Regions from separate parts of the Homo sapiens genome. Here regions 1, 3 and 4 are each linked to region 2. The links are contacts of gene promoters, found by promoter capture Hi-C in blood cells and fetal thymus (Javierre and others, 2016). All regions are on one chromosome and are shown on one strand. Each heading gives the region's core, a stretch centred on a gene start or on the middle of the fragment in contact. The rest is flanking DNA. Distances are from core to core; before and after follow the strand shown.

Region 1 (6,787 bases), core at 3,434-5,933, 4.0 Mb before region 2:
TTACTTCTGGAGAAAAGAAGACAGGAAGGGGATGGGGAGGGACCCTTTGAATCTGTGAGATTTTATTTCTTTAAACAACAAAAAGATATGAATCAAATATGTAGCAAAATATTAAGATCTCTTAAATCTGGGTGATTCTGATTTTCAGTAATTTAAAAATATTCCATAAAACTTTTTAAATATATTTTTTAAATGCCTAATGGCTGTGTACCTCAAGGCCACACAATTTCCTTAGAGTATACTTCCTTTGAGTAAAATACAATTACAAGATACCTGGGTTTTATAAAATGTTGTCTGGAAAAATAACTTGGCAGGAATAAGAATAGGCTGGCCATATTCCAATCAGATAAGGGGTGGTGGGAGGGGTTACTCCTTGACCTGGTGCCCTAATAAGTGTGCCTTAATATGTATGTCCCTGAGTCAAAAAACACACTGACTGGATACCTGATTTTTGAACAGCTGAAAACTATTAACTACGTAGAATTCTCTGTACCCAGTAACCGAAATTATTGCTTTGAGAGATAATGGTCCATATGCCAGGTACTGCTTGGAGACAAAGATAAATCAGAACTTGTCTCTATATTCACAGTGTAGAAGGAAAAAATATAAACACACAGTTCAAATATAATACATTAAATGATAAATTAAGGGGAATCCCACCATAGAAGACAGAGAAGGCACAGAGAGTTTCTGAAACACAGAGCACTTTTATATAACACACCTGTTAACATGCTGTGCAAGTTTCCCAATTTGGGTAATACTGGATTTAAGAATAAGTGGGGTGCAAAGAAAGTGAAGACAGGTGAGGCTTTTGTAAGATGAGCAAACCTAGGAATATTTGTAAAGAGAGGTTAATGATGCAAGAGACGGCATCACGCACAGAGCTTGGTCCCTAAGGAGGCAGCCAGGGTGAAGAGCAGGCTCAGAGCAGCAGTGGGGCTTGTGAGACAGCAATCCCTCCTGCAACCTCCCCTGCGGCAAAAGGAGGAAGGCCTAGGTGAAGACAGGAAAGGCATGAAGGGGAAGGGAGGGGAGACTTGGCTCTTTATCAGATGGCCATCTACCCTTCTCAGTGAAGTGAAAGACTGGGTAATCTTTGCTGAAGATGAGAGATTTCAAGGACCCGTTGAGTAGTTTTAAGAGTGAAAAAAAGTTTGGAATTGCCAGTGTACACAAGAACAAATAATACAAAGAAGATTATCAGTGACAGAATCAGTCTAAATGGGTTAAGTGAGAGTAAGCATTTGCAATGAGAGTAAGCATTTACAAAAAGCAATGTGGAAAAAAAAATTTGTAACACATTCGTGAGCATGTTTTTTTAAAAAAAGAAATCTGCATCTATCTGAAAAATACACAGAAATTAAAAACTAACACCTTATTCATCCAGGGTGGTTGGGTTCGAAGGTGTTCCACCAGTCAGTTTTCCAAAGTTTCAAGGTCTACCCTTTCAGGCAAAAATAATTTTATATTTAACCATTTCTAATTGAAACTAAACTACACACTTACCTGTCTTAATCACACAACTTGACTCTAATCTTAATCTTGAACATCCACTGTTGCTGTACTGCGCAGCAAAACAATTCTATCTTCTTAATAGTTCTTCTATGTCTTTCCCAGCTGTCAAAATATAAAAGCACCTGGTTCTTCTAAGTTTATGTTTACCCTTAACACCTCAACAACCACAGCCCGCCTTCTCAACTTGCTTCTAGTCAGCCTCATGCAATGCACTGTTTCTCGAACTTTTCTAAACCATAGCCCTTTATAATAAACATGAGACTCTCATTCCCTCCAGCCCTTTCATGGAGCACCGCTGCTCACGACCTGTTACAGTCTAGAAAAATGGAAAAACTGAAAATGGGTATCTATGCCACCTAAAGGTTTCCATCATAAAATTCTAGGAAACAGGCAGGGCACGGTGGTTCATGCCTGTAATCCCAGCACTTTGGGAGGTCAAGGCAGGCAGATCACTTGAGGTCAGGAGTTCGAGACCAGCCTGGCCAACATGAAACCCTGTCTCTACTAAAAATACAAAAATTAACCAGGCATGGTGGCAGGGTCCTGTAGTCCCAGCTACTCGGGAGGCTGAGGCAGGAGAATTACTTGAACCCGGGAGGCAGAGGTTGCAATGAGCCAAGATCACACCACTGCACTCCAGCCTGGGCGACAGAGTGAGATTCAGTCTCAAAAAAAAAAAAAAATTACCACGGGAATACTCATTTCTCATTTTCGTCAAATAACCCACAGCACTAGTCCTGTACTTTTCAACCATGGTAAATGAAATGTTAGAAACCCCTCCCTATTTGTGTACCATAGAAATTCTGACAACTCTGAGCAAAAGATTATTTCGGATGAGAAATCAGGATAGAAAAAAGGAGCAGCTGTCTTAATAGAGACGCATCGTTCCAAAAGTAGCAAAATTTGCTTAACTTCTGAACATTCTTGTAATCGTTCTGATAATGAAAACACTGATCAACTTACTACTCTCATTATTTTTCAACTTTGAAACTTTTCCTAGTCCAATGGAACTACTAAGTACCGTAAAGCACAGCTCAGGGAACAGACGGCAGTGACAGGCGGGCAGTGGGAGGCGGGAGAACGGCTTGAGCCCAGGAGTTCGAGACCAGCCTGGGGCAATATAGCAAGAACCTGTCTCAAAATAAAAAATAAGTAAATAACAAGGTGCAGCTCAGGTGTGCCATCACTCTTCTAGTTGAGGGCACCCCCGCTGCCTACCCCATTGAGTATAAGCCCCTCCACCTGGCAAGCAAGCCCTTCTGCAATCTAACTTTTCTAGCCTGAATTCCCACCACTCCCCTACCTATACCATCCACTTTTGCCAAACTGTAAATACTTACTGTTTACTGAAGAAGCTTCACCCTTGAAACGTCCTTTCTCCACCTCCACCTCTACCTAACAAAGTCCTACCCATCCCTCGGTAACCTTCTCAAAATGCCACCTATTAATACTTCAGGAACCCGTCCCTCCCTGATCCTCCAATGGCAACCTTGCTTCCCTCGGAAATCCCAGTAATTAGTTGTACCTCTCACTTTACTGCATTTCACCTTGCCCCACCTACCTCTAAACATGAGACTTCTTGCAGCCACCGTCTGCATTACAAGAACCTTTTTAATGTTTCTTAGCATCTAGCACGGTGCATCGCTAACAGTAGGCTCCGAGTTTATCAAGAAAGTTGCACAGTGTGCAATCAAAAAAGTACGTTAGGGGATGAAACTCCGCCTTAAAACTTCACAAATGAAAAATCGAAATACCATGACAGGCAAATGCACAATAAATATGCACCACACTAAGTTGTCCTCCAATAAGAAAATAAAAAAGTCTGCCCTTATTCCTCGATTTAAAAAAATACCACCAACAGATCACTACTTAAATCGTTTTTCAAGAAAGTTGTTTCCACATAAATGAGTACGAATGATTCAAAATTTTATTCCTCCGCTCTCGTGTTGTGCAATTTTTTTCCCTATAGGACAAAAGAATGGCAAAAACTTTCCCATCAATCTTTATTTTTCTTCCTTTATTCAGATACTCGGGGCGGCAAAGATTGTTGGAAAAACAACTGCATCGAAAGCACCTTAGCAGCCACATATGATTTGACTTAAGCAAAAATAACATTTCCTGGGGTCCCGTATGCCCTGGTAAGCCCAGGTGTCCGGAATGCCACCTGCCCCGACTGCCCTCGGGTGGCTACAGGCGCGGGGGAAGGCGCAGGGCCAGGGGCGCTGAGGGTGAAACGGTCCCGGCGTCCGGGCGGCGGCGGTGGCCGCCTGCGGCAGCTCAGCTGAAACGCAGCGGAAACTGCAGCCAGTCACGGGGCTGCGGGAGGCAAGGCAGGAAGGTGGCGCTGCCGCCGAGCGCCTGGAGCCCGAGCGCTCATCATGGCGGCAAGGGCAATGGCCGCCACGGGGAGCGAGCACGCCCCTCCGCGCGCACACGCCGCCGCGCCGGGCCTCCGGGGCCCGTCACCGGCGCCGCTGCCGCCGCCGCCCGCTCTCCCACCCCCCCTCACGGGCTGTAGCGGAATTTTCTCTCCAGACACCGCCTCCAAGATGGCGGCTCCCCCTCCCGGCAACCCCCTCTATCGTCCCCTGCAGCAGGCGCCGAGCCGCCGCCATCTTGTCCCCCGTCCCTCCCCCCCCCTCACCGATATTTACATAGCGAAAATCGGCCCGGCCGGCCTGCGGCCTTCACCTCACGCCTGCAGCCTTCGCCTCCTCGCCAGGCCTCACCCCGGCGCGGTGCCCCAGGTCGGCCGCGGAGCCGACCCGGGGCCCCTCGACCGCCTCCGGCACAACCGGGCGACCCTCCCCCAACCCCCGCCCGCTTACGGAGCGCGCCTCCGCCGCCGCTCGGGGCAGCCGGGCTCCTCCCCGGGCCTAACTGCGGCCTCCTCGGGGCCTGCTCGGCGCCGCGCGCCACGCCGCCCGGCCTAGCGCGGGAGGGCGCCTTGCGGGCCGCCGACCAGGCCGAGACCAGGCCGCTGTGCGCGCACTAGGCCCCGCGGCCGCGGCGGCACCCGGGACTCACCGGACGGACGTGCGGGCGGCCGGCGACGGTGGCGGGTGCTGCAGGCCGGCCTTTCTCTGGAGCACTGGGCCGGGCTCCGGCTGGTGGGGCGGGCGGAGGGAGGGAGGAGGGGCCGAGCTCGGAGCTGACAAAAAGCGGCCCAGCTCCCCGGCACGGGCCCGCCGTCAGCACGTCACGTCACCGCCCGGGAGAGAGACCCAGGAAAATGCGGAAGGGTAGACAGGCCCCCTCCTCCGCCCGGTGGGTCCTCCTGGCACCCCGTGTCGGCGCCGCTCCCGCCCCGCGACCGGGGAGCCCAGTGGCCTCGCTGCGGCGGGGTCTCCGGCGGCCGGAGTCTCCGTGACAGCGCCCCCCTTCTTTCCACCTCCTCCGCGCTCCCGCCCGCCGCCGCCACACACGCGCCGCTGCCGCCGCCGCCTCGGCCGTAAAGCCCGCGCGGGGCCGCGGTCGGCCGACCCCGCGGAGAGGCAGGCGGCCCGGCCGCCCCCCACCATGTCCCGTGGGCCGCGGCCGCCCCCCGGGGGCCTCCCTGGAGACCTACCGCCTCTCGCGCCGGTCCTGGCCGAGGCTCCAGCTCGAGTTGTTTGCAGGCCCTCAGACCCCCGCCCGCAGTAAATGTGTTTTCTTCATCCCCGTGGCTGGGGAGGAAGATAAATTTAGCAACCCCCGCCGTCCCCTGCCTTCGCTTAAAAAAAAAAAATCTTTGAAATAAAATGAAAACGGGCTTGCCAGTCTAAATGGGTGTGCGGGAAGGGGGGTGGAGTGGGGGGAGAAGGGTTATCCCTAGAGCACCTACCAGGCCGTCTACTTTTTAAAAATAAGCAGTCAGAGCCAAACTGATTTTATTAGTTTGTACGGGGGAGGGAGATGAGCAAAGTTGCATTTTGAAACGTTTCGCACGTTGCAAAGAACAGGAATTTTCTGTGTATTTTCCTATGTACCCGTGTTTCAGAGCTTGGGAGCCTGTGAAATGTAAGACTGGTGTCATCGTTTCATAAATCATGAATTTTCCACATTCCTTAATAGAGAGGAGCCCAATTGGGTATGGATTTTTTTTTTTTTAAACACACTGCTTAAACAAGCCTTTTGAAGTTTCAAAAGACTTGGGAGAGAAGGGGAAAATGATTAAACAGCACTTACCAACTTCAAAAATGTGTATTTCGCACTTTACTTAGTTTAAATGTTTATGCTATCTTTCCATGCTGAACTTGGAACCCAAACTCTGTTTTAAAGTTACTAGGGAAAAGTTAAATAGTGGAGTCTTTACATTAATCTGGAATCTGGCATGCTATCCTTTAACACAGCACTAAATGTTAAAGGCATTTTTAAACAATAAGAAACACAAAAATTATAAAGCAAATAGTATACTGGTGTGAAATCTCTTTAAATACAGAGGCCACGTATTTTAGTTGCCTGACATAACTCTTTAAAACTCCCAGAATGCAATTTGTCCCTTCCCTCAGACATCTCTCAATCACAAATGCTTTCAAAAAGGAAAAACAAAAGTAGAGTAAGAAGAAATCTCTGAGCATGCACTGGATGATAATTTTCCTCTCGGGGCTTTAGTCTGAATTTTTCCAAGCGATTAAATTTCCTTTCAAAAATAGTAACAGCATGTATTCATTGTTTATAAAAATTACATCAGGCTGTGATAGACTTTCACAGAAAGACATTTCACAGAAAGGTAAATGAAACTAAGCAATGTTGTTTCAATAAAAAAAAATGAGAAATAGCTTGTGTGCCCACATTAATATTTCTTGCACTCCCAGACTGGAGTGCAATGGCGTGATCTTGGCTCACTGAACCTCTGCCTTCGGGGTTCAAGCGATTCTCCTGCCTCAGCCTCCCGAGTAGCTGGGATTACAGGCACTTGCCACCACGCCTGGCTAATTTTTCTATTTTTTTAGTAGAGATGGGGTTTCACCATGTTGGCCAGGCTGGTCTCCAACTCCTGACCTCAGGTAATCCACCCGCCTCGGCCTCCCAAAGTGCTGGGATTACAGGCGTGAGCCACCGTGCCCGGCCGCCCACATTAATATTTCAAAACATTGATAATCAGCGTTTAAGTACTTTCCAAGGGCCTCAGTGTGATGCTACGGTATGGCAAGAATGGAGGCCAGGTTCCCTGGTTCAGTCCTGTAATCACAGCACTTTGGGAGGCCGAGGCGAGAGGATCACTTGAGCCCAGGAGTTCAAGACTAGCCTGGGTAACATGGTGAGACCTCGTCTCTATTAAAAAAAAAAA
Region 2 (6,814 bases), core at 1,687-4,186:
CAAATATTATGCTTTGGTAATGGATGCCAGGAAAGCCTTGCCCTTCCCATCAGGCTCCCAACCCGGCTGGGCGAGTGAAAGGACTGCGTTATGAGCTAACCGGCTGGGCACGGTGGCTGACGCCTGTAATCCCAGCACTTTGGGAGGCCGAGGTGGGCGCGAGTTGAGGTCACGAGTTCGAGACCAGCCTGGCCAACATGGTGAAACCCCGTCTCAACTAAAAGTACTAAAATTACCTGGGCATGGTGGCACATGCCTGTAATCCCAGCTACTCGGGAGGCTGAGGCAGGAGAATCGCTTGAGCCCGGGAGGCGGAGGTTGTAGTGAGCCGTGATCGCGCCACTGCACTCCAGCCTGGGCGATAGAGCAAGACTCCATCTTAATAAAAAAATTAAAATATTGGCCGGGCGCGGTGGCTCACGCCTGTAATCCCAGCACTTTGGGAGGCCGAGACGGATGGATCACGTGGTCAGGAGTTCAAGACCAGCCTAGCCAAGATGCTGAAACCCCGTCTCTACTAAAAACACAAAAATTAGACGGGCGTGGCGGCACGTGCCTGTAATCCCGGCTACTCCGGAGGCCGAGGCAGGAGAATCGCTTGAACCCGGGCGGCAGAGGTTGCAGTGAGCCGAGATCGCGCCACTGCACTCCAGCCTGGGCGACTCTAGAGCAAGACTCCGTCTCAAAAAATAAAATAAAAATAAAAATATACATATTTTTTAAAAACTGAGCTAACCACGAGGTTAACGAGTCAGCCACTTGTGAAACCGGGAGACGCGCGTTTGCTACAAAGCAGCAGAGGTCTGGTCTTAACCAGCAGCAAGCGCCACCTCAACCCGCCCTTTTCTATGACGCAGAGTCTCTCCCCCTCCCTCCCTGACTCCGCCTTTTCCCTGCTTGAGGCCCTGCCCCTCGCGTCCTCTCTGGCTTGCTGCGCACCCTCCCACAACGCGTCTCCCTCGGCTCTAACAATAGGAGTCAGTCGGCCACGCCTGCGTCATAAAGCCTGGGGGCGGGCCCAGCCGGCGACGGGAGGCGGGGAAAAGCGACGCAAAGAGTCGCGGCGCCATTTGCTGCCGCCGAGCGTGGACGCAGGCGGATCTCTGAAGAGCTGGGTCGCCAGCCTCTCCCGCGCACGTTGCCTGGCCTCCAGCACCTACTTGGTCCCGCGCGCTCCCTCGTGTCGCCCCTCGGAGCAGCAGCCGCCGCGGTCGCCGCTACCCGGAAAGAAGTCAGAGACGCCGCGAGGTCGCCGCCACCGCCATGCCCAAGAATAAAGGTAATGCCGCCCGGACCCCCGGACCACGGCTCTGCTCGGCCGGGTCTCCCAGGTCCTGCCCGTAGATTGCAGGTCACCCAGGCCGCAGTGACCCTTTTTCCTTCCCGCCCTGCCTGCCCGCGGCTGGGCGCCCCACACGCGACTCTGAGCTCGGGAGAGGAGCTGGGAAGTTAACTCCTGTTGCCCAGTTTGGTCACATTGGGGTGGAGCCGGCGCCATTTTTGTAGGGCCTCCTGCGGGAGAATGTGGGCTTTTGCTCCTGATTCGCGCCAGACTGACCGCTGCTCGGTGGGGACGGTGGCGGGAACCTTCCCCGGGGCGGCCTAGGTTTAGTAGATAGGCCCCTTTGGCCTTCCCGGGCATGAGGGGTTATAATCCCTGGAAGCCGTTCTGAACTTTCAGAGTGCTGTCTGCATTCGTGAGCACCAGGTACTCCTGCATGGGTTTCTTTATGGACAGTTCAGTATTGTTGAGGCTACTCGCTGTCCCTTGTGAACAGTGGGTGAAACCTTGATACATTTCTAAGGCTCACCTCTAGAGATTTACTCTCTCCATCCCTTTACAGGATATAGCTTATGTTTGTTTGCTGAAGACTTATTCCATATTGAGCCAAGTTTTCTACTTTTGCTTCAGATGATGCATATGTTGTGAGAATAAAGACCTAATTTAAGTGTCCTCCATTCTGAGGCTAAGCGTTCACAAATGATCAGACTTGAGGATAACTTTATTTGGGATTTCCAAAACGGAAGGCCTAATCTTAAAAAAAAAAAAACAAAAACAAAAAACAGAACACTCCTAAAGAAATTACTTTTATAGATTTACAGTGTTCCTGTCATTTTTAATAGCCGTATAACTTGAAGAAAATTGTGCAAGTAAATATAGGGAAAATACTGTATTTTCCTACAGGAGAGGAGCATACTTCATAGTCCGTAAGTAGTCTCCTTTGATTATTCATTCTAGAGGAAACCCTCCCCTGACACAGGCCTACTTCTGCTCTCTTTTCTACTTGACAGCTGGCTCCAGGGATTCTACCACATTTCCTCTTTGTAGCTGTCACTTATTACTTTATCCCTTAGGGTACTTGGTCGAGGTGTTCTGTGCACAAGTTGGTGCAGTCACTGCTCATTATTTTGGAAAAGATGGAGTTATAAACAAAAAATTTTAAAGTCTTACAGTTTTCTTCTGTATAATCCTTTATTCTCTCTGAGGTGGTAAGGGGATCACTTCCATCTTATTCTCACCTTTATTTCTAGTAATAAGATTTCCAATTCTTCCACCAGGCTGTAAGCTCTACAAGGCAGGAATAGTATCTGTCTTAATCTCATTGGATTGCCAGCACTTGACAATTAGTAGATGCTTAATAAATATTTGTTGGTTTAAGTCACCTACCTCCTGTCGACTCCACCCTTAGTGAATAATAGGTTCTGCTTTGGTTCCAAGGGGATAGGACTTCTACACTAAATCACATCTAGTTCCCTAGCCTCATGTCTTAAGAAAGAGCCTCTCTGGGAATTTCTCCAAAACAACTCTGGTTTAAAGAATGTTGATGTCACTTTAATTGTTGTACACTCAGACCTAGTCTCATTCATTCAACAGAGAATTTAAAGAACATCCCATTACATGGCAATAAAATACAAAGGGGAGTGATCCGGGTATGGTTAATTCTGGTAAATTGACAAGTAATTAGTCTTTTCTTAAATAACATTTGAGGCATACAAAAAATACAGCTAACATGATATACCTGGGAACCCATTACTCTGAATTTAAGAATTACAGCGCAGATTGAGGTAAAGCCCTAATCACCTTTTACTCTCTTTTTGGAGGTAATCACCAGGCTGAGTTTGGTGTTTATCATTCCTGTACTGTCTGAAACCAATCAGTTCTTAGTTATCTTACTTAGAGGAATGGTACTTTTCATGACCTAATTTAAGTGTCCTCCATTTTTTTTTGCTGCTTCCAAGCTCTTCCCATGAGTCTCTTAGGGTCATTACCACTTACAGCCTTTTTCCTGCCTTTTGGAAATGGCTGCCAATGTGGTTTCCTTTCTGGAATGGGAGCAAAATGCTGTGGAGAGGTAAGCTTATGTGGGGGCTAGGGGCAAAAAAAACATTGTGACTTTGGTCACCCCAGCTTACTGACTGTAATCAGTGAACTGATTTACTCACTGAAGCTAAGCGACTTACTTAACTTCTCTGAGCTTCAGGGAACTCATGGGTAAACTGGGAATAAATGAATGTTATGACCTCATGGGGTGATTGTGACAAGTAAATGGGCAGAATTATTGCATAGTGGTTAAGAGCATGGTCACTGGGGTCATATAATAGAAACAGGGATGTTGAGTAGGGACCAGCATTATAAAAGAAAGTAAATTGGGTACCGAACAGATCTTCTTTATTTTTTAAGAGACAGTGTCTCGCTATGTTGCCCAGGCTAGCCTGGAACCTCCTGGGCTTGCTCAAGTGATCCTCCCACCTGAGCCTCCTGAGTAGCTGAGACCCTAGGCGCACACCACTGCACCCAGTGAGATTTCAATATTTATGGTACTCTGCTACCAAAAGTTTGAAAACCACAGTTCTCTGTCCAGACACTGTCTTCACTTAATTTTGAAAGTATCGGGTTCCTTGCATAGGGCCTGGCTTTAGAAGACACCCAAGATTTCCGCTTAGAAGAATATGTATAGAATTGCATTTTTATTTCAAAAGGATGGGTGCTAAAGTGAAATGTTTTTCTATATTTTTTAACATAATATCTGCTATTTATGTGTATTTTATGTCAGAAAAATCCCCAAAGGAAATTCCAAGAAGGGTAGGGAGGTGATAATGTGTTAATGTTGGGATTGGAGATTGTAAATTTAATATGATTGTGTAGCTAAAATAGATGAATTTTTTAATTTAAGTGATCTTTTAAAAAATGGTTTTATAAGCCTTAATTTCATTTTATTTCATACTGTTTTACAGATAATTAATGTCATTTACCTCCTTTTCTTTTTTTTAAACCATCAGGTAAAGGAGGTAAAAACAGACGCAGGGGTAAGAATGAGAATGAATCTGAAAAAAGAGAACTGGTATTCAAAGAGGATGGTCAGGGTAAGTGTTTTCATAAATTACGCTTTTTAAAATAACATCCTTTCTTTTTTAGCTGGGGACTTTATTTTTTTGAGACAGCGTCTTGCCCATCGCCCAGGGTGAAGTGTGGTGGCACGATTACAGCCCACTGCAGCCATGACCTCCTGGGCTGAAGCAGTCCTTCCACTTCAGCCTCCCGAGTATTTGGGACTACAGGCACACACCACCACGTCTGGCTAATTTTAAAAATTTTTTTAGGCTGGGCGCAGTGGCTCACGTCTGTAATCCCAGCACTTTGGGAGGCCAAGGCGGGCGGATCACGAGGTCAGGAGTTCGAGACCAGCCTGACCAACATGATGAAACCCCGTCTCTACTAAAATTACAAAAATTAGCTGGGTGTGGTGGCACGTGCCTGTAATCCCAGCTACTCAGGAGGCTGAGGCAGGAGAATTGTTTGAACCTGGGAGGCGGAGGTTGCAGTGAGCCGAGATCACACCACTGCACTCCAGCCTGGGTGACAGAGGGAGACTCTGTCTCAAAAAAAAAAAAAAAAAAAAAAAAAAAACTGTATAGAGATGAGGTCTTCATATGTTGCCCTGGCTATTCTCGAACTCCTGGGCTCAAGTGATTCTCCCACCATGACCTCCCAAAGTACTGGGAACTAAGAATGTGTCGTATAGTTCAGAGGGAATTGAGCTATGGTTGACAGTTCTGTGATTTAGTTGGCAGTTCTATGATTAGCATTTCTGGTAGTGAATGGTACATATAATATGTTGAGTAGACCATGGACATTTGAAGGATGAGCCTGAGGCCCTTATAGACCTCTCCATTCTCCAGTGCCATTAGCATATAACTTCGTAAACTACAATAAAATGAAACTGAACAGTTAACTGATTTTATTAGACTGAAGAATATTGTAAGTGCCAGACCAAGATACATAGCACTAGTCAAATAAATCCTAACTGGATCGTTTGCCCTTTCCTGTTACTTTTATTTCGAGTCATTTCAAACCTACAGAAAGTTGCAGTATTAGTGCAACAAACTCCCTTAAATCCTTCATCTGTACACACACATATAAAGAAATATATATGTGGGATTTTTTAATTTTTTTTTTGAGATGGAGTCTCGCTCTGTCGCCCAGGCTGGAGTGCAGTGGCGCGATCTCGGCTCACTACAAGCTCCACCTCCCGGGTTCACGCCATTCTCCTGCCTCAGCCTCCCAAGTAGCTGGGACTACAGGCACCCGCCACCATGCCTGGGTATTTTTTTTGTATTTTTAGTAGAGACGGGGTTTCACTGTGTTAGCCAGGATGGGTCTCGATCTCCTAACCTCGTGATCCACCCGTCTCGGCCTCCGAAAGTGCTGGGATTACAGGCGTGAGCCACCGCACCTAGCCCCATATGTAGGATTTCTTCAGGACCATTTGAAATTTAGAGACATCATGTTACTTTTCCCTTACTTGATCATGTATCTTCTAAGTGCAAGTATATTTTCTTATATAACTAGAAGAGAATTATCACACTCAGGTAATTTGACATTGATATAATATCTAGTATATACTCCATATTTCCTCAGGTATTCCAATTATTTCCAGTACTTTAGCTTTTAATAGAACTTTGGGTGGATTTATTACGCCATACATATAAACCAGTAAACATGAGATACGTTTTCTGGCTAAAAGTCCTTTGGTTTCTTAGCCTTGGTCATCCTTGCCTCTAAAATAGCAGCTGACTTGACTTGGGCATACACTGTTTTATTATTACTTTTTCCCTCACTTCAGAAGAAAGGCTGCCTTTGAGTTGACCAACCATGTTGAGGTGGTAGATGGGTGCTAAACTCACTGTAGTCTGAGTAATTGACTTCCACAAGTCATCCCCACTGTTGAGCCTTTCAAAATGAAGTCTCAGTATATTTACAAATTAATGGACATCCTCTCTGGGGATTAGTCATATTCTAATTCAACAAAGACATTGTTTGAAGTTTGTTTTTGTTTGCTAAATGAACTAAAAATTATGAGATTTGCACCTAAAGGTACTGAGGTAAAGGAGAGCCAAAAGTGGGGTAGTCAATCTACTTATTCAGAATGAGTCGATAATTTAAACATGTCTAATAGCAGAGACAGTATATTATAGAAATGGCATTACATTCTCTGAGATCTGCTTTTACTGAAGTGGATCAATGATGAAACTAGCCAAATCTGAGCATCAGAAGGCTTTCCGGTCTACCTGATGCATGATCTCTACAGTTCTGAGAAGCAGAACTATAAAACAATGTAAAACAATAAGGGCATATGTCTGGTGTGTGTGTGGGGGGTGTGTGTGTGTGTGCACGCACACGTGTTTATAAAGGTAGCAGTTGTAGGAATGAATGAGATTGGGGGTGAGGGGGTGCATATGTATGTCTATGAAAGCCTAATCATTTCTGGGCAATGATGTAAAGGTTTTACGACTGACCTTTGTAACTATGAAG
Region 3 (6,683 bases), core at 426-2,925, 4.5 Mb after region 2:
AAACTCAGATTTGTCCAAGGGACACAACTGTGCTTTTGATCTACTCTGGGGTGGCTGTGTCTGTCCATAGCCCCTAGCATAGTCAGGTGGGAATATCAACAATGCAGACCCGAGGGAGTCCCAGCTTGCTGCTCCTTGGTTTCTGGACACTCCTCTCATCCCGCAATGTCTCTGGGAAAGCTGTTCTACTTTTTAATAGACAGAATCCTAAAAGGATGTCTGGTGATCCCCATAGCGGAGAAAGAGGGCTAGAGTGGGGAAGTGGCTATTTCCCCGCCGCCAGCCTCCCACTCCCATTCCTCAGAGAAGCCCCGCCAGGGCCCCGGCCAACCTCGCCGCACCAAAAGCTTCTCTGGCTCCAGGGCCGATAGCGGCACGCGGTCATGTTTGCGGCAAGTGGCACAGTTCCTGCCCTCTCAAGCAGACCACGCCCTGCTGCTGCCCACGCTCCTTACTGCCGCCCGCCCTTACCCGAACGACTTACCTGAGCCAGAACCTCCTCGTTCGCTCCCGGTACCCGAGGATCCCGCACGCGGCCATCTTGGCCACGCCCCCTCACGTTTAGCCACGTCCCTACGCAGCAAACGTCATTTCGTCATTCCAGGTTACGCCCCTATCAGTCCCCATTCTGTCCCCGACCCAGGCTGAAATCTCGCCCTGGCCACGCTTCCCCAGCGCCGGAGTCCACACCTGCTCTGCGCTCTGGCTACACATCTCCTGTCGCTGCCACGCGCCTGCACGCTAACTTGCCGACGCCTCTGCCCTCCGCCTGCTCCACCATCTTTGTTACGCCCCTCAGAGCAACAAGGCACGCCCACACGTAAGGACCGCGCCCCCCACGTTCGAGGCACGTCTCTGCGTTCCAACTACGTCATGTCCCTACTTCCCTTTTCGCGCCACCTCCCTTGCCGGTCACTACTCCGCAGCCCGCCTTTCCATCTGTGGCCACTTTTCCACCCTTCGCCCAGTGATCATCCAGTCACAACTAGTCTGCCTACCCCACCTCCCTCCCTTGGGCTCACGTCCCTACTCCGCCTGAGGCCGACCGTCCCGCGAATTCGAATTTCTTTTTTACACCCTTGCGACTACGCCACGCCTTTCACGTAAGGGCTAAAGTCAGCTCGTTCGGGCCACGCCCCTGCGGTACGCCTGGGTCACGCCTCTTCCGCTAAGCCTTGCTGCCTGCGCTCCTCACTGGCGGGGCCGTTCCCGCCGTGGCCGTTCCCACCGTGGCTAACCCCTTCCATTCTCTCGGAACAGGCAAGACCCCTCTGGTCCGCGTCACTTTTCTTACTGCATTCCACACCTCTCTTTTCTGGCCAGTCCTGGCCGTCCTCTCAGGCCACACGCTACAACCTTGTGGTCCTCATTGGCCACTCGCATCCTGCGCATGCGCACTTACCTACCTTCACTTCTGGTCACGCGTTAGGTTCCCAGGCCACCCACTTTTGGTTCCACTCTGGTCACGCCTCTCCCGCCAGTTGCACGCTCTCTGCGCTCCTTTTAGGTGCGATACTTGATCCCGGGAAGCCACGGAGGTGTTGGAGGGGCCCACCAGTCTCCAGAGAGGACTGTCCAGGTCCTGGAACCAGATGTCCGCGGCATTTATAGAGTGAAATGAGCCTGCGGATCTCTGATCCTCTCCTAAAAAGTGACTTTCTCCATGTATCTCCCAACTCTAAACACCACAACTCGTTAAGCAAAAACCGAGTAGGAAACAGAACTGATGGGCCAGTGGTGGAGCAATGTTCCTTCTAGCTAGGTTTCATGTCCTTTAACCCGATATGGAGATAAACTGGAACCGTGTTCCTTCCAGCCCATTTAAAGTCAGCGGACTTTAAATGCTAGGGAGATACATGGAGTAAGCACACTCCTCTACTTCCTGATGTGTCCTCCTGATGACTTTTCCTAGGCACTTGGTGCCCTAATGCTCTCTAGGTCCTGTCTAGACACCACCACATTCAGACCTCTGTTTGCAGCCCCCTGCTCCAAGATTACGCTTTTTTACTCCCTCCATTCGCAATTCTGGGTTCACAGGAAAAAAGTGAGGAGGTTATTACCAGCTTTTCTGTCCAGAAATTTCTGAACGGACATTCTTAGAGGATGGACACTTTCCATTAGCCATTCATTCATTCATTCATTCAAGACAGATTTATCAAGTACTATGTTCCAGTAAGAAATAAGACAAGAGTCAAAGAGATCACAGACTGAGCTTCCCCAACTCAAGTTTAGATGGCACAAGAATTGAGAAAATTAAAGATGGTGTAATAAAGGAGTTGATAGGTGGAAAAGGACTTGATAAGTGCTGGTTTGTTGTTCTAATTAGCAGGAGTATTTTGGGGCAGCAAACATAGGAAGCCACTTACATAGCAGTTAGTACAGCTCCCTTCACAATAAATTCTCAATCTTCATTTAAAGTATTCCCTTTTCACTTGTATAGAGGATTACAATTTTTCCCTCCATGGCAGTGAGATTTACTATATACACTTCTACATATGCCAGTAATCAAGATTTTATGATCACATATAAAGTGTAAAAGTTCCTTTCTCTTCCCACCTTCCATCCATTTCTGCTTTGAAGACAGTGGGAACTTTCACAATATTGAGCTACAAGGAGCACAGAGTAAAAGACAATTTTCAACAAAACATTTTTTATTAAGCTCACCCTGGCTCTGAGAACTCTATCTCATTTATATAAAATGTTGCCAATGCTAATCATTTTTTGCATGAAAAATTAAACACACCGGAAATGGGATCAAGTGCAGCCTGTGTAAATTACTGCATTGATTTTTATAGCATTATTTTCTCCCAGATGATTTGAGGCCGCGTACCAAAATATAGGCAACACTGTATAAAGTAAGTATTATAGTTTAAGGAACCAGAGGGGAAATTCATGGAGGGAGAATAAATAATGTAGCCAATGGTAAGATTAACACTCAAGTATGCACACTTTCAGATCCAGAACAGTTTTTGAAGGTGGGCAAGAGATCTCACTCTAAGCTTCCATAGAAAACAGGAGATAACAAGTATTTTAAAGTTTTACGGTGTTCATAAAAACCAATCAATCAGGATTTTGTTTGCTTTTGAGAAGCACTGTTTGTTTTTTTAAAAATAATTTTTAGCCCCAAGGCAAATCCCAGTTCCTCATCATGATGACGCTGTGAGCTACGTGGGAAATAAGTGTCATAAGTTGTTACACCCACATTCCCTCAATGGAAACTGTTGGCATAATCACAAAGCACAGGGCACTGAATCAATTTCATGAACCATCCAAAATTTCCTGTTCGACTGAGTACACAGCCCCACAATGGTCTGGTTTAATTCAGGGTAGCATTTAGATAATCTTTCCCCATAATGGCACATAAGTTTCAACTCACATGTCAACTCCCATTTATTCATATTAGTGGACTGAATAGCTCAGTTGGGGTGGCTGAGTCCATGCACAGAAGGAAAAAGTTCTGAAATAGATAAAAAATGTTTGTCATGGGTGTGGGATGAGCAAATGGCTGCAAACAACCTGTCATCTCTGATTTGTAGTAATAGGGATCTCTTGTGCACATCTTTTAGGCAGTCCACAAAAACATTTCTCATAAGACTTTTGATGAATTTCAGACAGTAGAGGGTTCAGGGTCATCACTGGCCGAAACGTAGGATCAGAAATTCTGAGATATTGATTAATTCATATGTCTTTAATATTAATGAGAGCATATAACCTAAAAGTTATGTGGTCTGATCCCGCCCCCGCCCCCACACCCTTTATAGAGGTTGGCAAAAGAAGTACCTGTTGTCAGGGCTAAATGTGACTAGGTGACCTCCAACTGGTGGGCAAATTGATGATTAAGGATGGAAAATACTATTTCATAGACCATGGCTGCAATACTGTTAGCCTAGTAAAAAGAGAAAATTGACTTGCCAAATCATGAGAAAACTCTTACACCTGAGCAACAGTGGAACCAGCTAAACCTGTAAAAGAAATGTCTTGCTTTAACTACATGAGACCCATTATAAAGCATTGGTCTCCATGCACAAGATGAAACACACAGACACACATACTTTTTTTTTCCCATTTAAGAAACTGTCCTTTAAATTGCTACTTTAGGAGCATAAAGTTGGCAGAATTACACTCACTCAGTTGATCTGAATTAATTTTTATTTCCAAACGGTAGTGATTAACTTTCTCTGAAGTAGAAAAATGTTAACTTGTGAAGAATAAGACAAAGTTCATAATGATTATGGCTACTGATTAACCTACAAAATTTGATGAGCTTTTCAAATATCCTTGCTTAATATGATTTCTCATCTTAAAAAGGGGATATATGTGATGGAGACAAAAATATTCCACATTATAGAGTTTCTTGCTTACCAAGGATACTGGAAATTGTGTGTGTGTGTGTGTGTGTGTGTGTGTGTGTGTGTGTGCGCGCATAAAATTAAGCATACCAAAAGATTGTAACATCATCTGTTCTATATTCTAAAATTATTATTAAAATAAGCTCATTTATCTTTTTATTAAGATGGCCAATGAAAAATAATTTCCTGTTTTTTGTAGTCATGGGCACGTAGTGGGCTGCCAGTCCAACAGCCTGTGATTAGTAAATAAAGGGCACATTGGAAACTCACTGTCAGGGAATGTCCTTCCCATCTCCCATTGTCCTTCTCTGTGTCATTTACAATGAACCCATTCCCACATTGAAATCTTCATTAGCCTCTCAGGACCATTGTTGGAGAATCCAGACTCTCTGACCTCTAAGATCAGAACCCAACTTGGCTTTTCAGATGCATCTACACTGATGCTCTCTCCCCCATCTTCCTCTGAACCACTCTACCAGCAAGTCCCTGCTGTTGGCCATATCCTGTATCTGTCCTTTGTGTTTGTTTTCAGATTTCCTTAACTTGTATCCTGTGGGCTTTCATGTTTTATCTTTAAACATCTTGCCATTGTTCCAGGTCTATCTTGATTATCATTGAGAAACCTTTCTTCTATTTTTCTTTTGTTAACAGTTTTATAATTGACTTGTCAAATCCAGTAACTTTTTATCCTCTTTTTCTCCAGTGTTCCTATAGCATTTTGTTCACAATTGTATGTGCATCTATTGCCATCGTGATTTACTTTTGTGTCCTACAAAATTGTAAGTTCCTGAAGGGCAGAGACTATATTTGGTTCATTTTTGCATTTCTCGTAGCCCATGAATATGATAGTTTAAGAAAACTGAGTTGACTAATTTGAATCATAAACTGAAGTTCTAATAAGCTTGTGACTGGAAATTAAGTACCATGAAATGCATTGCAATGTATATATTTTTACATTCTTAGCCTTAGAGAAACCACACACACACACACACACACACACACACACACACACACACACACACACACACACACACTTGTCTCCCTTTTTTCTTCTGTTCTTCCTTGTGTGGGTTATTTCCATTAACTCAACTACAAGAAGAAAAGAGTTACCTAAATGACATTTTTAAAGTTTGTGGGGGTGTTTTGCAGCATCCCTGGCCTCTACCCACTAGATGCCAGTAGAATCCTCTCATCTGCCATTCATGATGACTAAAAATGTCACCAGACGTTGCCAAGTGTCTCTGGAGCACAAAATCACCCCCAATTGAAAACCACTGAGTTAAAATAGAACTTACACACAATAGACAAAAATACTTTGTCTCTCCATGTATCTTAACACTGACAATTTAAAGAGAATAAAATTATTTTTGTTGCCTAATTATACTGAAAACATTGTATAAATTATTAATAATACAAACATCTTGATATTGTTTATTATATATAGTATATCCATTTCATTACAATTTAAACAAGGAAGGATGTCATTTATTAAAATTCTACAACATTTAGGAAATCATTGAGTAGAGCCATTTAATTAAGATATTAAAACTTCCAAAGGGGTTTGTGTGTGTGTGTGTGTGTGTGTGTGTGTGTGTGTGTGTGTGTTTTGTTTTTGGTTTTTGTTTTTTTTATTTTTTGAGACAGAGTCTCGCTCTGTCACACAGACTGGAGTGTGGTGGCACAATCATGGCTCACTGCAGCCTCAACCTCCCTGGGCTCAGGTGATCCTCCTGCCTCAGCCTTCCAAGTTGCTGGGACCACAGGTGCATGCCACCAAGCCTGGCTAATTTTTGTACTTTTTGTAGAGAGGGGGTTTCGCCATGTTGTCCAGGCCTGTCTTGAACTCTTGGACTCAAGCAATCTGCTTGCCTCGCCCTCCCAAAGTGCTGGGATTACAGGCATGAGCCACCATGCCCAGCAGCAAAAAGTGTGAAGTTTTAAAATCTTATACAAAGTTTCTATGTTCAATTATTAAAAGTTTTAATTGATTTCTTTTAATGTGTCACAGCCAGATAACATTTCTGAAAATCCAATAAAAATATACAGAATAATGTCACATTTGAGATGGTTTTACAGTTTACTAATTTTAGGAGCTATATATTTACTAAATTTCTGTTTTTGATAATGAAACAAAATAACCAGGGTCAATTTTAAAAGAAACATTGGTCATCTCCACCTCTTGCTTTATTGGAGGTGAATGGAGCCTACATACGCCCACGTATTTATACGAATCTAGTGAACTTAAGGGATCTTGCATGAATCAAAAGAACGACACATGTGTTTTCTTTTCATGTGATCTCATATTCTGTTTACCCCAGAGCAGTAGATCCATAG
Region 4 (6,862 bases), core at 403-2,902, 3.4 Mb after region 2:
AATAAGTGAAGTGTCCAAAGTGATGGTGTTGAATCCCTTACAGGACATTGGTCCACAGCTTCTTTTTCAGTCCTGCAAGCACTGGATCTTTCTTTTAGAATACAAAGAGAGGGAGAGAAAGAAAGAGAGGTAATTGAGAAGTAGTAACACTGTCATGCAGAAACATGAAAATACCTGACCTTAGAAACAGGCCCCAAAAAGCTAATTCTTAACACTCTGCTCAGACGTAAACTGGACCTTTGTTCTCCCATTTGAAGTTTATGAATTGCATTAGAAAAATATTATTTCGTAATTTCATACAGGAGTTAAGAGTGTTCAAATACATAATTAAGTAATATTAAATAGCCCTCGGTGATCAAGCAAGATATCCAACAAGTCGAACGTTTCAGTATGTTCACCTGCAAGGAAAAAAAGAGATGGGGTTCCCACCTTCCCAGTCTCAGTCCCCGCAATTATCCATTCCAGGGCCCCGAAAACCCTGTACCCCGTTCGTTGTGCAATCTTTTTCAAACTCCACCCACTGAGCTCCAGAACAAGTGGAATTGTCCCGTTCTGAAAGAGGTCTCAATTTTCCTGTATCTAGGGAGGGACTGAAAACTCCTTGACGTGAGTCAAGTAAGGCAAGGGGAACAGTCCGGCCTGTTTCCCAGATTAAGAAAGACCCAAGGCCAGGGTCGGGAAGGCATTCAAGTTTCCACTCATCAAATTAAAAAAATAATAAATGAAAGAAAAAAAAGAGGGGAAAAAAGAGGAGGGTGGTAAATAGGACTGGGAGGACCAGCTATCATGCGATATCCCAACTCTGCAGGACCGAGGTCCTCCAGCATCGCCTCCCCATCCATCCCCGGCCCCACGTGCAGCCAAGCCCTCGGAGCCCCGGGGTCTAGGTCCCGGGGGCCGAGCGTCCCGCTCGCACCGGCCCTGCGACACTCACCCGCTCGCCTGCCCGCCCGCGCAGTGGCGGGGAGCGCAGGGGGGCGGGGGAAGGGGGGCCAAGCACACCCCGGCTCCCGCGCGGTTATCTTACTGCGCAACAGCCTAGCCTGAGCAGCCCGGGGGCACCCCGCAGCGCGCCCTGCGCACCTGCCCGACGCCAGGAGGGCGAGCCCACGACCCCAGCGAGCCCCCGGACGGCGGCGCTCAGCGCCGGGAGCACGGTGACGGCGGTGACTGGGAGAAGGAACGCCTGGCGCCCGGATCCCCGCGGTGCTGGCCGCACGTGGCTGTCACACCTGGCGCACCCCCGCCTCGCACCCCTTCTCCCTTAGAACCGCGTGCGCCCCCTGCCCTCCCTCCCGGCTTCCCCGCCGCGCGCCGCCAAACCCCAACCGTCGTCCCTTCCCACCCCATCCATCGCGGTCCCACCCCCCCCCACCTGCTCCCACTGTCGTCACCCCCGGGAGGGAAGAAGACCGGATGTTCGTCCCGTGGCTATAGGTAACCAGGGAGAGAGAAGAGGTGGACCCTGAAAAAGGGAGCCCAAACATCCCCCGGGCCCGACAACAACGAGGGCGTCCCCCTGACTGACCTTCTGCCGCGGGCTGCGTCGCCGTCCGCCCCGTCCGGCCTCAGTCGCCTCTTCGGCGCCGCCGCCTCTTCCCCGCGCTGCCTCCTCTACCCGCGTCGCCATGAGGTGACGGCAGCAGCCAAACAAGCGGCCCGACAAGGGGCACAGAATCTCGCAGGGCCTTTCGCCCCGCCCCCGAGCCCCCACGACCAATCGCCGCATGTGAGACTTCCCACGTGACCGGAGGAGGTTGGCCCCCGAGGGGACGGAGCGAGATGGGGATGGGGAGCATTGAATACTGGGCTGGGCTTCAGCAAGACCGAAGGGCAGATAGAGGCCGTGTGAGTCTGCGCGGATCGGGAATGGGACTCGGGAGTGGACTACAAGTCCCAGCAGGGCGTGCGGCCACAGCTCGCAGGCTCGGATCGGGATTGGGACATAAGGCGGCGTTCTGAAAAGGGGAGAGTGCTGCACCCAGTGTGCTTCGTGTGCATCCTAGTGGGACTTGCGGTTTCTGGGGGCGATGTCTGGCTATAGGAAGGTACTCGTTATGATCTTTCGCGGAAAGTTTAGAAATATCCCCGTGTTTGAGAAGGAGCACGATCGGCGACACATTCTTGTGTTTTTGTTTTTGTTGCCGTTCTTAGGAATTGGGCGCGAATGATTTGGGGATAAGGGAAAATACTTCACGACTTTCAAGACGGAAGGTGTATTGGCTCTTAGAATTTGAAGTTTCGTGCTCGGGCACCTGCCCCGAGCCCTGCCCCTCCACCAGAGTTGTTACCACGGTTTACTTGTCCCGAGCTCCCGCGGGATAGGTGCCGCATTCTATTCACCTTGGTTGAACCGCCCCGGCTTCTGCACACTTACTTGGCACTTCATTCATGTTGAATGTATCCTGCTTTCTCCCACCCCATTTACTCGTTTCATTACCTAAATTTTTTCAACAAACTCGGTTTGCTGAACCGAATTTTTTTTTTTATTGATATGATGTTGGGGGGGAGAGGGGAGATTTCCTCAGGAATATTCCCTATTTCCATCTGATGGAACCAGATCTCCAATGGCCGAGCTTCTGAAAGGCACAGACCATCATGAAATCCTGATATATTGTCTTAAATAATTCATTATGAGGCCGGGCGCGGTGGCTCACGCCTGTAATGCCAACACCTTGGGGGACCGAGGCGGGTGGATCACAAGGTCAGGAGTTCCAGACCAGCCTGGCCAACACAGTGAAACTCCGTCTCTACTAAAAATACAAAAATTAGCCGGGCATGGTGGTGGTGGTGGGCTTTTCTTTTTTCTTTGTTTTTGTTTTCCCAAGACGGAGTCTTGCTGTCACCCAAAGCTGGAGTGCAGTGGCACGATCTCAGCTCACTGCAACCTCCGCCTCCCAGGTTCAAGCAATTCTCCTGCCTCAGCCTCCCGAGTAGCTGGGATTGCAGGCACGTGCCACCACGCTGGGCTAATTTTTGTATTTTTAGTAGAGAGAGGGGTTTCACCATGTTGGCCAGGCTGGTCTTGAACTTCTGACCCCCTGATCTGCCCTCCTCGGCCTCCCAAAGTGCTGGGATTACAGGTGTGAGCAACCGCCCCCAGCCGGTGGTGGGCTTCTGTAATTCCAGCTATTTGGGATCTGAGACAGGAGAATCGCTTGAACCCGGGCAGCAGAGGTTGCAGTGAGCCAAGATCGTGCCATTGAACACTCCAGCCTGGGTGAGGAGAAACTCCATCACACACACACACACAAAAGTAAGTTATTCCTCAAAAAAAAATTTTTTTTTAGAGATGGGGCATTATGTTGCCCAGGCTGGTTTCAAATTTCATGATTTTCTATATTGTTTAAGTATGTATGGAATGAAAAAAATCAATAAAGTTATCTTTATTAAGGAAAGAGGCCGGCCACGGTGGCTCACGCCTGTAACCCCGGCACTTTGGGAGGCCGAGGCGGGCGGATCACCTGAGGTCAGAAGTTCAAGACCAGCCTGACCAACGTGGTGAAACCCGGTCTGTGCTAAAAATAGAATTAGCCAGGCGTGGTGACACGTGCCTGCAATCCCAGCTACTAGGGAGGCTGAGGCAGGAGAATCGCTTGAACCCGGGAGGCGGAGGTTGCAGTAAGCCGGGATCACGCCATTGCACTCTAGCCTGGGCAACAAGAGCGAGACTCCGTCTCAAAAAATAAAAAGAAAAGAAAAGAACTATGCCATTAACCCCAAGCCTTCAGAGAAATGAAAAATATTTAATTGAATTAAATGCATATCTTTTTTTTTTTTTTTTTTTTTGAGACAGAGTTTTGCTCTTGTTGCCCAAGCTGGAGTGCAGTGGCCAATCTCGGCTCACTGCAACCTCTGCCTCCCGGGTTCAAGTGATTCTCCTGCCTCAGCCTCCCAAGTAGCTGGGATTACAGGCGCGCCCCACCACGCCCAGCTAATTTTTCTATTTTTAGTAGAGAGGGGGTTTCACCACGTTCGCCAGAATGGTCTTCATCTCTTGACCTTGTGATCCGTCCACCTCGGCCTCCCAAAGTGCTGGGATTACAGGCCTGAGCCACCGTGCCTGGCCTCTTTTTTTTTTTTTTTTTAATGCAGAGTCTTGCTCTGTCGCCCAGGCTGGAGTGCAGTGGCATGATCTCAGCCCACTGCAATCTGCACCTCCCAGGTTCAAGGAATTCTCGTGTCTCAGCCTCCCTAGTAGCTGGGATTACTGGCGTGCACCACCACACCCGGCTAATTTTTGCATTTTTAGTAGAGATGGGGTTTCGCCATGTTGGCCAGGCTGCTCTCAAACTCCTGGCCACAAGTGCTCTGCCCGACTCGTCCTCTGCCCAACTCGTCCTCCCAAAGTGCTGGGATTACGGGCTTGAGCCGCAATGCCTGGCCTATCCTTTCTTTATGTCCAAGACTTTAAGGGTCATCCAATGTTCTGTTTACATTGATCTCACCTTTGCGCCAGGACTATTGTCTTTTAACTGTGCCTGCAGGCGTGGCTCACACCTGTAATCTCAGCAGTTTAGGAGGCTGAGGCAAGAGCATCGCCTGAGCCCCGGAGTTTGAAACCAGCGTAGGCGACAAAGCGAGACCTCGTCTCTAAATAAATAAAGTTATCAAATAAAAAAGCCGGGCGCTGTGGCTCACGCCTGTAATCCCAGTACTTTGGGAGGCAGAGGAGGGCGGATCACCTGAGGTCAGGGGTTTGAAACCAGCCTGACCAACATGGTGAAACCTCGTCTCTTCTAAAAATACAAAAAAAAAAAAAAAAAATCAGCTGGGCATGGTGGCGTGTGCCTGTAGTCCCAGCTACTCGGGGAGGCTGAGGCAGGAAAATCGTTTGAACCCAGGAGGCAGAGGTTGCAGTGAGCCGAGTTCATGCCACTGCACTCCAGCCTGGGTGACAGAGGGAAACTCTATCTCAAAAAAAAAAAAAAAACAAACACTGTGCCTGCTAGAAGGGTAAAGGCCACCAGAACAATAGCTCCTCATTGGGTACGGGGTGTTCTCTCCAGGCTCCCTAAGGAATGTGAATATAACCTGAATATGGCTCCATTTATTCAGATGTTTATTAAAGTCTTGAGCAAGCAGGCATCAAACAATTCATGTGAACAGTAAGCTCAATGAGGTCCCAACTCTTTGACCTTTGAGATGCTCTGACCACCGTTGTGATGAAATGTAGAGCTCTCAAGGTGGACTCACCACTATTACAGAGGCAGGATTCTGTTGGCCTTATAGCCGATATCAGGAAACTGCAACCCTCAGAGTTTATAGCTGGACACAGGACGGTTTAGAGGTTTAGCCTAGAGTATTATCCTGAAGGAAACAAGCTTCGGACTTGCTAGATTCTTTTTTTTTTTCTTATTAATTGTCTGTATGACAAAGATTTTTTTTTTAAGAAAGATTCTTATACTCTTTTAACGCAAAAGTGAGTAGAGTCTCACATATTTTAAACAATGCATATATCTTGAATATCCCTGATTTCACTAATGTGAGCCCATTCTAATGCTGTTATTTTTATTTTTATTATTTATTTTTGGTGACAGGGTCTCACTCTGTCACCCAGGCTGGATTTCAGTGGTGCCATCACGGCTCACTGCAGCCGCCACCTGCTGGGCTCAGGTGTTCCTCCTGCCTCAGCCTCCCAAGTAGCTGGGACCACAGGTGTGTACCACTACACCTGGCTAATTAAATATATATATATATATATATATATATATATATATATATATATTTGTAGAAATGGTAGGAGGGTGTCTCCCTATGTTGCCCAGGCTGGTCTCAAACTCGTAGGCTCAAGAGATCCTCCCGCTTTGGCCTTGTAAAGTGTTGGGATTACAGGTGTGAGCCACCATGCCCAGCCTCTAATGCCTGTTATACTAGCTAAAGCTAATAAGCTACTAATTTCACCTACGAAAACCCATTTCTGGCCAGGCACGGTGGCTCACACCTGTAACCCCACCACTTTGGAAGACTAAGGTGGGTGTATCGCTTGACTCCAGGAGTTCAAGACCAACCTGGGCAATATGGCAAAACCCCATCTCTGCAAAAAATACCAAAAAATTAGCTGGGTGTGGTGGTGCACACCTGTAGTCCCAGTTATTTGGGAGGCTGAGGCAGGAGGATCACCTGAGCCTGGGAGGTGGAGGTTGCAGGGAGCCAAGATTGTGCCACTGCACTCCAGCCTGGGCAACAAGAGCGAGACCCTGTCTAAAAAAAGAAAAAAGAAAACTCGTTTCTTTCTTCTTTTTTTTAGACAGAGTTTCGCTCTTGTTGCCCAGGCTGGAGTGCAATGGCGCGATCTCGGCTCACTGCAATCTCAGCCTTCTGGGTTCAAGCCATTCTCTTGCCTCAGCCTCCCAAGTAGCTGGAATCACAGGCATGTGCCACCACGCCCAGCTAATTTTGTATTTTTAGTAAAGACGAGGTTTCTCCACCTTGGTCAGGCTGGTCTCGAACTCCTGACCTCAGGTGATCCGCCCGCCTCAACTTCCAAAGTGCTGGGATTACAGGCATGAGCCACTGCGCCTGGCAAGAAAACCCATTTCTAACCTTCATTTTGCTACTTAAGAAAGCCTCTGTTATTGGTTGAGCTATGGCTAACAGAAGCATCTGTAGTGGCTAGAATAGGAAATATGGACTCCTGACCACCCCTGGTGTATAAAGTCCTAAGTGGGGTCATTTCCAGCTCTAAACACAACACACTCCTCCTCCACCTCTTCCTTCTCTATCTTTGCTGACAGTAAATTACAGGCCTCATCATACCCTATAATATGATCACAGATATTAACATAGCTAAAGAAGCAATGTGGGGCTGGGCACGGTAGCTCATGCCTGTAATCCTAGCACTTTGGGAGGCCGAGGCGGG

What was found. Contacts are between HindIII fragments. The CHiCAGO score rates a contact against its expected background, and 5 or more counts as called.
Region 1: the fragment with the promoter of ZFX-AS1 here is called in contact with the fragment with the promoter of EIF1AX-AS1 in region 2 in 2 of 17 cell types (fetal thymus and total CD4 T cells); the score reaches 7.3 in fetal thymus.
Region 3: a fragment that was not itself captured here is called in contact with the fragment with the promoter of EIF1AX-AS1 in region 2 in 1 of 17 cell types (fetal thymus); the score reaches 5.2 in fetal thymus.
Region 4: a contact is called between the fragment with the promoter of TXLNG here and the fragment with the promoter of EIF1AX-AS1 in region 2, in 1 of 17 cell types (naive CD8 T cells). The highest score is 5.4, in naive CD8 T cells.

What each region holds. Positions count from the first base shown.
Region 1 is chrX:24,147,550-24,154,336 of GRCh38, reverse strand. It overlaps ZFX-AS1 (ZFX antisense RNA 1), which reads left to right and starts at 4,683. Exons shown (of 3, transcript NR_046657.1): 1 at 4,683-4,782; 2 at 5,495-5,584. It overlaps ZFX (zinc finger protein X-linked), which reads right to left and starts at 4,608. Exons shown (of 10, transcript NM_003410.4): 1 at 4,543-4,608; 2 at 2,537-2,646; 3 at 1,507-1,617. RefSeq lists enhancers at 677-766, 4,152-4,965, 5,172-5,271 and silencers at 3,602-4,111, 4,162-4,211, 4,232-4,641, 4,702-5,061. The HindIII fragment of the contact is 5,789 bases long and covers 2,873-6,787 here.
Region 2 is chrX:20,136,090-20,142,903 of GRCh38, reverse strand. EIF1AX-AS1 (EIF1AX antisense RNA 1) reads right to left here and starts at 2,936. Exons shown (of 2, transcript NR_046592.2): 1 at 2,669-2,936; 2 at 2,460-2,569. EIF1AX (eukaryotic translation initiation factor 1A X-linked) reads left to right here and starts at 1,066. Exons shown (of 7, transcript NM_001412.4): 1 at 1,066-1,279; 2 at 4,282-4,365. The coding sequence starts at 1,264. It also overlaps SCARNA9L. RefSeq lists enhancers at 955-1,004, 1,065-1,334, 1,665-1,824. The HindIII fragment of the contact is 4,524 bases long and covers 1-3,360 here.
Region 3 is chrX:15,669,580-15,676,262 of GRCh38, reverse strand. It overlaps CA5BP1-CA5B (CA5BP1-CA5B readthrough), which reads right to left and starts at 805. Exons shown (of 12, transcript NR_160544.1): 1 at 485-805. It also overlaps a transcript of CLTRN not described here and the pseudogene CA5BP1. RefSeq lists enhancers at 730-849, 522-1,140, 1,373-1,876. The HindIII fragment of the contact is 2,652 bases long and covers 350-3,001 here.
Region 4 is chrX:16,781,256-16,788,117 of GRCh38, reverse strand. It overlaps TXLNG (taxilin gamma), which reads right to left and starts at 1,652. Exons shown (of 10, transcript NM_018360.3): 1 at 1,529-1,652. The coding sequence starts at 1,630. LOC124905250 (a long non-coding RNA gene) reads left to right here and starts at 1,852. Exons shown (of 2, transcript XR_007068398.1): 1 at 1,852-2,048; 2 at 2,155-2,458. RefSeq lists a silencer at 867-1,306 and enhancers at 1,353-2,085, 2,057-2,256. The HindIII fragment of the contact is 8,203 bases long and covers 1-5,326 here.